Regions from separate parts of the Homo sapiens genome. Here region 1 is linked to region 2. Evidence: promoter capture Hi-C in 16 types of primary human blood cells and fetal thymus (Javierre and others, 2016). All regions are on one chromosome and are shown on one strand. Each heading gives the region's core, a stretch centred on a gene start or on the middle of the fragment in contact. The rest is flanking DNA. Distances are from core to core; before and after follow the strand shown. Region 1 overlaps FAM98A (family with sequence similarity 98 member A). Region 2 holds the start of MAP4K3 (mitogen-activated protein kinase kinase kinase kinase 3).

Evidence for each region. The method cuts DNA at HindIII sites, captures the fragments that hold promoters and counts their contacts. A CHiCAGO score of 5 or more calls a contact.
Region 1: a fragment that was not itself captured here is called in contact with the fragment with the promoter of MAP4K3 in region 2 in 1 of 17 cell types (non-activated CD4 T cells); the score reaches 5.3 in non-activated CD4 T cells.

Annotation. Positions count from the first base shown.
Region 1 is chr2:33,593,457-33,599,135 of GRCh38, reverse strand. It overlaps FAM98A (family with sequence similarity 98 member A), which reads left to right. Exons shown (of 8, transcript NM_015475.5): 2 at 3,499-3,647. Among named protein-coding and RNA genes, the nearest start is that of FAM98A, 3.0 kb to the left of the region's middle. RefSeq lists an enhancer at 394-583. The HindIII fragment of the contact is 1,828 bases long and covers 1,387-3,214 here.
Region 2 is chr2:39,433,779-39,439,384 of GRCh38, reverse strand. MAP4K3 (mitogen-activated protein kinase kinase kinase kinase 3) reads left to right here and starts at 2,100. Exons shown (of 34, transcript NM_003618.4): 1 at 2,100-2,493. The coding sequence starts at 2,398. MAP4K3-DT (MAP4K3 divergent transcript) reads right to left here and starts at 1,969. Exons shown (of 6, transcript NR_037875.1): 1 at 1,850-1,969. RefSeq lists silencers at 1,847-2,066, 2,137-2,496 and an enhancer at 2,827-2,906. The HindIII fragment of the contact is 5,405 bases long and covers 1,124-5,606 here.

The DNA of each region.
Region 1 (5,679 bases), core at 1,051-3,550, 5.8 Mb after region 2:
CACGCTGCCGGCCCCCTGGGAACACCTCCTGCGCCCCAGTCTGAGACACCTGCCTCTCCACGCCGCACCCCGTGGCTCCTGGCTGTCGCTTCCCTTTGGCCCCGGCACCCCCAATGCCACGTCCACTGTCTGCACTGCTAGCTCGGGGTCCTCCAATCCCAACACCCCTAGGCCTGCCCAGTGCTCCCTGCAGGCGAGCTACCCGCAGCGTTTGTCAGTCATGCGTGTCATTGTCTGGGCTCTGATTTTCGCCACCCCCACTCCCCGAGCTTCTCTCCTCGCTTCATCCTCCTGCCCTACCCCTTAACCCCTCAACTCTAAAGGTTGCCAAAGTTGATTCTGCTTTCCTACTTGTTCTCCAAATTTCCTACTCCCATCTTGAGCCCCTCCTCCTACCCCACCCCACTTCTCTCAAAATTTCTCCTTTGCCCAGTCATCTCTGCATGCACCCAGGCTTCGCTAAGCCACTTGTATGGGCGCTGCATCTGTTCCGCTGGCCAGCTCGCTTGTGCATCTAACCTATCACCACGTCCCTGGGAACCACCAGCAGTTTGCTTTGACTCTGTGATACTCTGCCTCGTTGAGCCCCATTAGACCAGGGTCGTCTTCACCCACGAAGAACCTGCGTATTTGTTTTGCATTGTGTCTCTCCTTCTCCTGATATTTATTCAACCATAATTCATCAGTATCTAGAAGCTGGAAATAGGGTTTGTTATCTCACTGGGTCACCCAGATCAGTGTACTCTATTAAACTTGAGAACGTGGACCCTCTTGGGCTAAATGTGGTTCCAGAAACAAATTGTATGGTTAGATACTTACCTACAGGTACGGTATCAAAACAAAGTACAGATTTAGCTAGCTGTATTTCTAAGTAACAAGTTCTTTATCAAAATTTTCTCTTAGGTTTTTCCATGACAAGGAAACCTTTGAGAGAAACCTTTCTTTAGGAAAAAACACCTTGAGGATTCCCAAAGTCTGCCTATTTGAATAATTTACTACCCTAGTAGAAATTTTTAGGAACGAAGTAGTCTTGCTTATCATCTGTCTTTGTCACAGTGAAATACTATTGTTCTTTTCTTGGAAACTTGCTCTGAATTTTTATAAATATTCCAGACTTTAGGGGGCTTCTTTCTTTCATTAGGGCATATGTTAAAGTCATTCAGCAAAATAGTCTCTTTAGTTGACATCTCAGACTGAATCGCTTGTTCACACATGAAACCATTCATTCATTAGGACTTTTTTAGGAACAGTTTCTTTGTGGCAGTGTTAGGCCCTTAGAGTACAAGGTGAGGTGGAAGAGGGGTTCACAGGATACTGGGAAAATATGCTGTGAGGAGCCCTGAGGAGGGTCCCTTTACTGGGAAAGGAAATGAAATCCTAGAAGCTTCTTTCTGGAATAAATGACACTATAGTACTGTAGTGGAATGAGTGGAATGAAAGGAAGGGGGTAGACCTTATTAAATGTAGTCTTTCTGCATGGATAGTGGTCACTTAAGAATTGGCCACGGATGCTGTTTCTTCCCATTATTGTCTTTTTTTTTCCCCCTCCTTTTTTTAACTTTTTATTCTTTTGGGTACTGTACAAGTAATTGTTACTGTAGTAATTGTAATCACATAACTACTTGACATAGAGTGTAATGTAAACCATGGATTTTCTGAAAACTGTTATAAATTTTAACCTTAACTACTTAGTTTGGTGGCATTCAAATATTAAAAGTCAGCCTTAATTAACTGAAATGTACTTTTAAAGGATTAACTGAGAAATATTAGAATTAAATGACTACCTTTTCTATTTATTTATTTATTAAGAGATGAGGTCTTGCTCTGGTGACCAGGCTGGTCTCGAACTCCTAGCCTCAAGCGATCCTCCCACTTCAGGCTCCGGAGTAGCTGGGACTACAGGTGTATGCCACTGATCCTGGCAAATAGTCATCTTTTATCTCTTACCTGGCACACAGTAGGAATTCAGTAACTACTTGTTGAATAAACTAATGAAGTCTAAATGTGAAACTCAAGGAGAAACTTCTAGGCCTAGTCTTTTGATTTCAGTGTCTAATAATACATAGTTTATAAATCTAGATGCCAGACTACATGTGATCTCATTTTTTTATGTATGATTTGTTTTCATTTTGTTGCATATACTGTATAAACCTATAATCATATTTTAAAGGGTTTGAGAACTGTCATTTCTCTAACATACCTGTAGTTCTCAACATTATATTATCTTTTTTTTTTTTTTTTTTTGATACGGAGTCTTGCTCTGTCGCCCAGGCTGGAGTGCAGTAGTGCGATCTCGGCTAACTGCAAGCTCTGCCTCCTGGATTCAAGCCATTCTCCTGCCTCAGCCTCCTGAGTAGCTGAGACTACAGGCGCCCTCCACCATGCCTGGTTAATTTTTTTGTATTTTTATTAGAGATGGGGTTTCATCGTGTTAGCCAGGATCGTCTTGGTCTCCTGACCTCGTGATCCACCTGCCTCGGCCTCCCAAAGTGCTGGGATTACAGGCGTGAGCCACCACGCCTGGCCTAAACATTATATTATCTTAAGCATATTTATTGTATCATCTTAAGTAAGCATTATTATCAATATTTAAGAGAATGTAAAGCAATCTGAATAATATGTATTTAAGATTACTTGGAGTGACAGAAATCTTATATTTTAGAATATTGGTGATTGGAGTTCATTATGACTGTCATCTTTTATGAATGTTTGAACATTTTTAAATTTTTTAAAATTATATTGGAATCACTTACAAAGGATTAGGATTCAGATGCGCCAGTTCATTAACTGCCAATATTTATTAACCTAACCTGACGTTTCTTTGGTACTAGAATGTCTTACTAGTCTTAACTGGCATTAAATTTATAAAAATGATATAAATGGTTAACTGGAAAGTTTTTACTTTTAAAGGAAGTCATTAAAAACCTAACTAAGCCTGGGCAACATAGTAAGACCCCTGGCTATTTTATAAAAAATAAAAAAAAAGCCAGGTTTGGTGGCTTGTGCCTTCACTGCACTTCAGCCTATGTGACAGTGCAAGACCTCATCTCAAAATAAAAACATAATCTAGTTGTTTTCTGGAAAATTTTTAGAAAAGATAACCTAAGTTTTATTTCTGAAATAAGTTACAGTATAATTAGCTATTACTTGTTAATTTGCTTTTAATACTCAATTCAATTACAGTAAGAAAATAAATCTTTTTACAATGGAAGCTTTTAGTAAATGTACAGAAGTTGACATAATTTAGTAGTATATGCAATTCTGTTAGATATTCACCTACATTTTGAAAGGTTGAAATGCAGCTACCATTTAGCTGCTTTTTGTAATGGTTCAGTATAGTTCTAAATTATGTTTATATTTGTCCATTTAAAATAAAGATAAGTACTAACTTATCTTTATTAAATTATTGCTTATATAAATAAGACATAGATATGTTTTATCTGTAATATATTAGGTATGATTGTATTTTCTTCTGAAATGTAATTTCTTGCTCACCAGTTACAAGGGCCCATTGTTGGAAGATGGAGCGCTCTCTCAGGCAGTCTCTGCTGGAGCCAGTTCCCCCGAGTTTACCAAACTCTGTGCTTGGCTGGTGTCTGAATTAAGAGTGCTCTGTAAACTAGAGGAAAACGTGCAAGCAACTAACAGTAAGTAAACATTCACTTTTAGGTACAAAGTATAAAAATAACATTGAGGTATTGTCAACTGAACATTATCAATACTAAAGCTGAAAGTTGCAAGTTTTTGTAAATGTAAAAAATTTGTAAAGAAGCCAAGATTTTTTTTCCGTCCGTTGTTTTTAGAGGTGATTCAGAAGTTGAAATACCAGAATAAAGTCATGTAACTTAAAAATTCGTGGATGCTGAAAAGACCCTATTACTGGGATACAGAGAAATGGAGACCACAAGCATAGAATGTATGAACTTCCTATATTTTGTAAGATGTTAAATGTAAGATCCTAGATTGATGGCTAGAACTAGATACTGGGATATTTTTCTTTTAGGATTACCAGATTCTAGAAGCATCTATAGCATGTAGAGTAAATGCATTATTATTCTGTTATGCTTGGGGAGAAAGAGAACACTTTGTTAAGACATTTTGTTTATCATAAGAATGCATCGTTAGATACATCACAGTGAGATCCAGGACAATCAAATTTATGGATCTGAGAGCTGTTCTGCATTTACCAATTTTGTTTCCACTGTTGCACTAGTTTGTCGACACTGCAAAAGAGGCAAAAGCTTGGAACCTACCACTCTACCATCTGGTTCCTTCCTGCTGTAGGTAAACCTATAATAGGAGACCAAGGAAAATACTCACCTGTTAACCCACCCTTATGGAGAGCTATACATATAATTCCTTTTTTTCCACATAATCACGTTTTGAAGAGCTCACCTTCTTGCATGCTAGTGTGTGTGTGTGTGTGTGTATATATATATGTGTATATATATGTGTGTATATATATATGTGTATATATATGTGTGTATATATATATGTGTATATATATGTGTGTATATATATATGTGTGTATGTATGTGTGTGTGTGTGTGTGTGTGTGTATATATATATATATAATTTTTTTTTTTTTTTTTTTTTTTTTAACTTTATGTTCCGGGATACATGTGTAGAACATGCAGGTTTGTTACATAGGGATACGTGTGCCATGGTGGTTTGCTACACCTATTGACCTGTCCTCTGAGTTCCCTCTCCTCACCCTCTAACCCGCAACAGGCCCTGGTGTGTGTTGTTCCCCTCCCTGTGTCCATGTGTTCTCATTTTTTAACTCCCACTTAGTGGTGAGAACATGTGGTGTTTTTTTTCTGTTCCTGTGTTAGTTTGTGGAGGATGATGGCTTGCATGCTGGTATATTTAATGTGTACGTGTTAGTTGCATTCAGTTCTAATTATTAAGGAGAGTATAGTGTAACAGTAATGATAGCAACAGCTTACATTTATTGTGTACTCACTATGTTCTAAACACTTTATATGTGTTAACTCATTAAACCTCAGGGCAACCCTATGAGGCAGGTTTTATTACTGTTATACCTTTAACAAGAAAGCCCAGAGAATTTAAATACATTGCCTGAGGTCATACAACCTGTAGGGGTGAAGCCTGGTTTCAACCCCAGAACAGTAGTCAAGTTCTGAGCCAGTGTGCTTGAACACTGTGCTATACTGCCTCTTGACCAGATGTTTGAGAGACTGTAGGAACCTTTGAAAACACCAGTACTAGATGATACCTCTATTTAACCTGGAGCCCCTTTTTCTCAAATGAAACATGATACAGAAGCTAACATGTAAAACAGGTTAGAAGGTATTCTAACAAAGTAGAGACGAGGTACCTTTAGCCCAGCTCTTTCCTCCTCATCCTCCCAGCTGCCTCTAAAAGAGCTCTGTGGAACTCAAGGGCTCACAGATCACAGTTTGCAAAATATTCATAATGTAGGCTTCCTGTATTACAGATTAGAAAATGGACTCAGGTGATCAAGTGACTCTCTCAGAGTTTGTTAATTTCTTCCCCTTTGTGATAGTGAATAGAGAACAATCAAAATAATGAAGAAAGAGCTTTGTTTTTCCTTTGGTTCACCCAGTGAACTCTATACCTTTTTTTATATGCTGTGGGAATACAAGACTGTAAGTCATGTTTGCTGTCTTCAAATTTTTTCTAATTGAGAATGTT
Region 2 (5,606 bases), core at 851-3,350:
TTTCAGTCCTGAGAATTTGGCTTTCTGGCACTAAAAAGGCAGAGGCCGGGTGCAGTGGCTCATGCCTGTAATCCCACCACTTCAGGAGGCCGAGGCAGGCGGATCATCTGAGGTCGGGAGTTCAAGAGCAGCCTGACCAACAAGGAGAAATCCCATCTCTACTAAAAATACAAAAATTAGCTGGGTGTGGTGTTGCATGCCTGTGATCCCAGCTACTTGGGAGGCTGAGGCAGGAGAATCGCTAAGAACCCGGGAGGCAGAGGTTTCAGTGAGCTGAGATTGCACCCTTGCACTCAAGCCTGGACAACTAGAGCGAAACTCCTTCTCAAAAAAAAAAAAAAAAAAAAGGCAGAGGAAAAGAGCAGACCTGGCTTCCATTTGGGATAATTTGTCAGGTCTGCTTATCTGAATCCTTGGCTAATTATTCTTGCGCTTGGCCTAAACATGCCAAACAATTCTCCAAATGTGGACAAACTGAAGGAAGGCCTGTAATCTGGGTCCTGGGCAAGTACCTTAAACAAGCAAAAGCAAGACCTTTGGCTATGGAATAACATTTATAGTCAGGAGTTTCTCAAGATACCAGAGCCTGAAGGTAGATCCATCGAGAAGATATTCAATGATATGCACTCCTAAGGCAATAATTTAAGTGATACTTTCATATTACTGATGCTTTAAAATTTAATAATTAAAAATTACACAACTGAAAGGCTACTTATATAGGTGAAGAGATAACCATTTTCAAACATCAATTTAGTCAACAGATACTCAAAGTAAACAATTTGAGAATTTAGTACATATGCAATTTTCCTATGAGCAAAAGGATTCAAAAGATTTTTTGAAAAAGTATGAAGCAGTTAACTCTAAGTAGTTTGCTCTACTATTAATTTATTATACTTATCCTTAACAGGTTTGATGAGACCTAGTTTCTCAGGAGCCACGAGGTATTAGGGAATATTAGTGGTTAGAAGGTGTGGTGCCTAAGGGGATTAGGAAAGCATTTCTGAAGCAAAACTCCAACGTGGTATTGCCAAAGTGGCCATCACCTAATTGATTAAAGCTCCTGCAAATGTCTATTGGGAAGTTCAATGAGAACAGAAAAATAACCTTCCATTACCCTCAAGCTTTCTTGGGCAAGTATTAACAATCGGAGCTGGAGTCCACATAGCTCAGATGTAAGACGCGCAATCTGGGTCTTAAGCAGGGTGGGGTTTTTGGGTAGGTAAGGTCACAGCTAAAGAGCTTCCGGATCGTCACGTGTTTATATTTCAGGTGCGGTAATAGATCTAGTCCACTCTCCACCCCTTCTTTACAGGGTTGCTTGACAGCCTGCGCAGTCCCCGCCCGTCTTTGATAATCCAACCCTCTTCGAAGAGGGAGGTCAATCACTGCTTTAGTTCTGCGCTCTGCCTGCCTCCCACGCGGGATGGTGGGCAGCTGTTCCGCGTGTTTTCCTCCCGGAGCTTTCACGCTCTGCCCACTGCACACACCTCCCTCGCGGCCCTCCTGGCCTGCCCTCCTTTGCACCCTGGCAGGCCAACTCCAAGGGTCCGAGTGTCGGTGACAGGGGCAAGCAAGCACAGCTCACTTTTCCTGGGGGTTTTCCTCACGGTGTGTTTAGTGACCCCTCCCCGCAATCCCAGAAAGGCTGCAGCACTCCATGGTATCCTACATGTAGCTGCTTCTAAAATAATAAAGGCTGGGACATTGGCTGTCTTGGATATTACCACTATGCTACCTGCTTGGAACTGGGACCAGATAGACCAAGGTCCAACTTTGTCGTTAGGGGAATCAGAAACGAAAAGAAGCCACTTTCTGCTAGTCCTAACCCCGGTCCCTGGGCCAGGCAAACCTTTTCAAGCGTCCGGCGGCAGCGGCCGGGCGCGGGTCCGCAGAAAAGCCGAGGCGTTTCGGGTCCCAAGCTGTTCCGCCGCCGGCCCCGGCCTGGCAGGCGCGCGGAGCCGGAACGCGCAAGGGGTCGGGTGCGCGCCAGGCCTGGCGCGCTCCCTCCGGGATCGCGGCTGCGCAGTCGGGCGGGAGTCGGGAAAAGGGGAGGAGGTTGGAGGAGCCGGAGTAAGGGGAGGGGGAGGAGCGGCGAAAGCGGAAGCCATGTTGGAGTTTCACCCCGAGCGAGGGGCTGCGAGGGTTCTCCTCTCCTTGTGGGTGTGACCAGGTTCGGCGCGGCGGCGGGCCGCGGGGGGCGGGGACGATTGGCCGCTTGTCGTCGTCCGCAGCGGCGTGAGGGGAGCGGCGGCGGCGGCGGCGGCCGCAGCGTGGAGCCGGGTGATTGTGACCGCCGGGGGAGCCGGGAGCCGGCCGCGGCGCCCTCTCTCCGTGTGGCCCCCTGAGCGGCCCCCCTCCCCTGCCCGGGAGGGAGGCGGGGGGCACCTGGGGCCCGCCATGAACCCCGGCTTCGATTTGTCCCGCCGGAACCCGCAGGAGGACTTCGAGCTGATTCAGCGCATCGGCAGCGGCACCTACGGCGACGTCTACAAGGTAAAGGCAGGGGCCGCGCGCCGCCGAGGCCGTGGGATCCCGACCCGCAGCCAAGCCTGGGCGTCCGAGCCCTTGCCGCCTGTCCTCGGGAGACGCTGGCGCCAGGGAGCAGTCGGGGAGGAGGAGCTGCGGACGCCAAGGGCTCTGCTGCCTTGGTGAACAAAGGGCCGAATGTTTAACCCCGAGACCTCCCCAGCCCTTACCTGAGCCCCCCCGGTGGACATGATTTTTGCCACCTCCCTTCTTGCGCGCATTTCCAGGGAAGGGCAGAACGAGAGCAGGCCACACTGCTCATCCATAGTGCAGAGAAGGTCTGGGCGTTTGTTGCGTTGGCAGGGTCAGCGCGACGAACCGGACAGCAGGGGTCTGGTGTTGTCAAACCTGCCTGCTTCACGCCAACCTGGGGTCGTCCGCTCTAGGTTGGGAGCTGCTGCCCACCAGGCCTCGGTGGTAGTTATTATACTATGCTGAGCGACCTCCATCTTCCATCGACAGCTCTCAGCCTTTAGCGCCTTATTCATCCCCCTGTCAGTTTCTTTTAATTTTCCAGAGTAATGACTTTTTTTTTTTTTTGGAAAGAGCAACTTTGTTTTCTCTAAGTCGAATTGGACTGCGATGCCATTTAAACTTGTTTTTTAAAAAGTGACTTGAATACTTAGGGAAGGTACTGGTTTGACAAGGTTAGAATTCAAAGTCCAGTAGCGGTACAGCATTCCTGTTGTAGAGGGACCACTTCTAAATGTGGGAAGATAAATCACTCTTCCCTGGCCAACTCAACTCTTGGCCTCACAGTTACTGCCAAGAAGAGAGGAGGTTGTTGCCAAATGTGGCAGCAGTCTTGATTTAGTTGTGTATCTTCTTACTGGTAACTGAAGTTGAACTCCTCCAGTTTCACATAACACCTGAGGATGCACAAAGAAACTTAATTTTGCATTGGAAAGTTCAGTCTTAACTTTATTTTGCCCATGTTTAAGCAGGTTTTTACTCTTCAGTGTAATGCCTGTGGTAACTTACATATTTAATACAGTGCAGCCAGTGTTCTGCTTTAGTCTGATTTTCTGGATGATCTACTTTTCACCATCGTGGATCTCATCACTTTTCCTACTATGCAATATAGATATATTGAGCCCACCTACAATGTATGAGATACTTGGCAAGTAAGCACTTTGGGTTGTAGCAGTAAACGATAGACTTGGTTCCAAATCTTCCTAAGTGTTTCTATTTTTTTGGACAAGGACAGTATTAAATAGCCATTTAAATAATTATTGCCGTTTAATTTTGTGATGCAGAAAAGAGTATTAGGATCAGGGTTATGAGAGCATGTAATAGGAGGACCTGATCCTGTTTAGGGTATCAGACGCTCATCGCCTTTCAGCTGAGATCTCAGAGATGATTAGGCGTTGCTTAGGGTACTGGGGAGAGGGGATTACGCCAGATAGGGGAGCATGATATGTGAAGGCTCTGAGGCCCGATGTGAAAGAAGGCCTGTATAGCCTGAGCAGCCAGAGCGGGAGGGTGGCCCTAGATCTTGCAGGCCTCTTAGTTCTCATTAGGAGATCGGACTTGTTTAGGACAATGGGGAACTATTGCAGGCTTTTAAGCAGAGGAGTGACATTAGATTTAGGTTTTTAAAAGAGCTCCCTACTACAGCATGAAGAGTGGAATGGAGCAGTTGGGAGGCCACTGTGATAGTCTAGGTAAGAATAATGGTGTTAAGGAATATGGTGATGACTGTGAAAGTAGAAGTGGATGGATGCAAGTCACTTATGACTGGTTGGGGGAGTTCGCTTATATTGCGATGAAAAGTTAACTAAAACTCGATGAATGTATACGTTTTAGGTGGCAGGGTATACAGTGAATTTTTTTACAGGACTAATTGGCTGTGTACTTGCTATATTAAAAAGAACAGTTAGTAGTTAAGCCACATGATTAAAAAGCAAAAAAAAATTAGGGCCTGTAATTTCCTAAGTGTAATAGAGGTATACTAAGTTGGTTAATCTTGTCATTCGTTTAAAATAATGATAATACTAGCTGATGTTTATGGAATGCTTGTTACTTGCCAGGCACTATAAGATTTTTCTAATTAATCCTAACAGCAACCCTGTGAGATAGGTGCTATTGTTAACTCCATTTTGCAGTTGAATAAACTGAGGCACAAGGAGATTAACTTGCCAAAGTTGGTAGGTGGCAAAGCCAAAATTTGAACCAATTAGGGACTGTATTCTTAACCAATTGGCAGTGCTGCCTCTCTAAAGATAGGAGATGGGCAGATAATGTATTACATTTCCAGTGGAGAAACTGAGGCACACATTTAGTTTAGCATTTGAGTTGTAGCCACACTCTGAGTCAGTGTAGATCTTTAAGTAGTAGTTGGAATACCTAATTCCTGCTGTGCCACAAGGTCTCACTGTTTATGTAGTCTGCCAAGTGGATATCAGATAATAGATGCTTGGTCCCTGCCTGCCAGACTCTTCCAATACCAGTGACCAAAGCAGAGAAACTTCATGTGGTTCTTGACATCATGTACCCCTGCCTGCCAAACTCTTGTTTATGTTTTTGTCTATAATCAAGTTTATTCTATAAAGTTACATTTTTTTGTTATTTGTTTTGCTGTTTTAGTTTTTTCTTATTTATACAAATTAATTGTGCTAGAGAGAAGTACATTTTGTTTTCAAAAGCCAATATATATAATTTGTTCCTTAATTTGTCAGCATTTACGTGCTAAAAATGGAATGATTGGATTAAATAAATAAGAGATCCGATTATAGTCATTCTTGGAAGGTTGGTGGAGATTTTTATTTTGAAAATGTTTTCCTACTCAATGTAATAACATATTTATTGTACTTAAGGTGGCGTGGTTTAGTTCCAAAGCACTGAACAAGGATGTGGACAATCTGGGATTTATTAGCTATGTGACCTTGTGAAATCAACCTCTCAGAGCTGTTTTGTTGTGGAGATATTATTACCATCATATGCCCTTCTTCTTTTGGTATTGACTAAATGACTCAAATTTTACTTAGTAAGTAAGTTATCTTTATTTTTTTCAGGCCAATGCATATATACATTTTATCTGCACTGTCTAAAGTCGTATCTTGTAAGTGTCGTGTAACTCT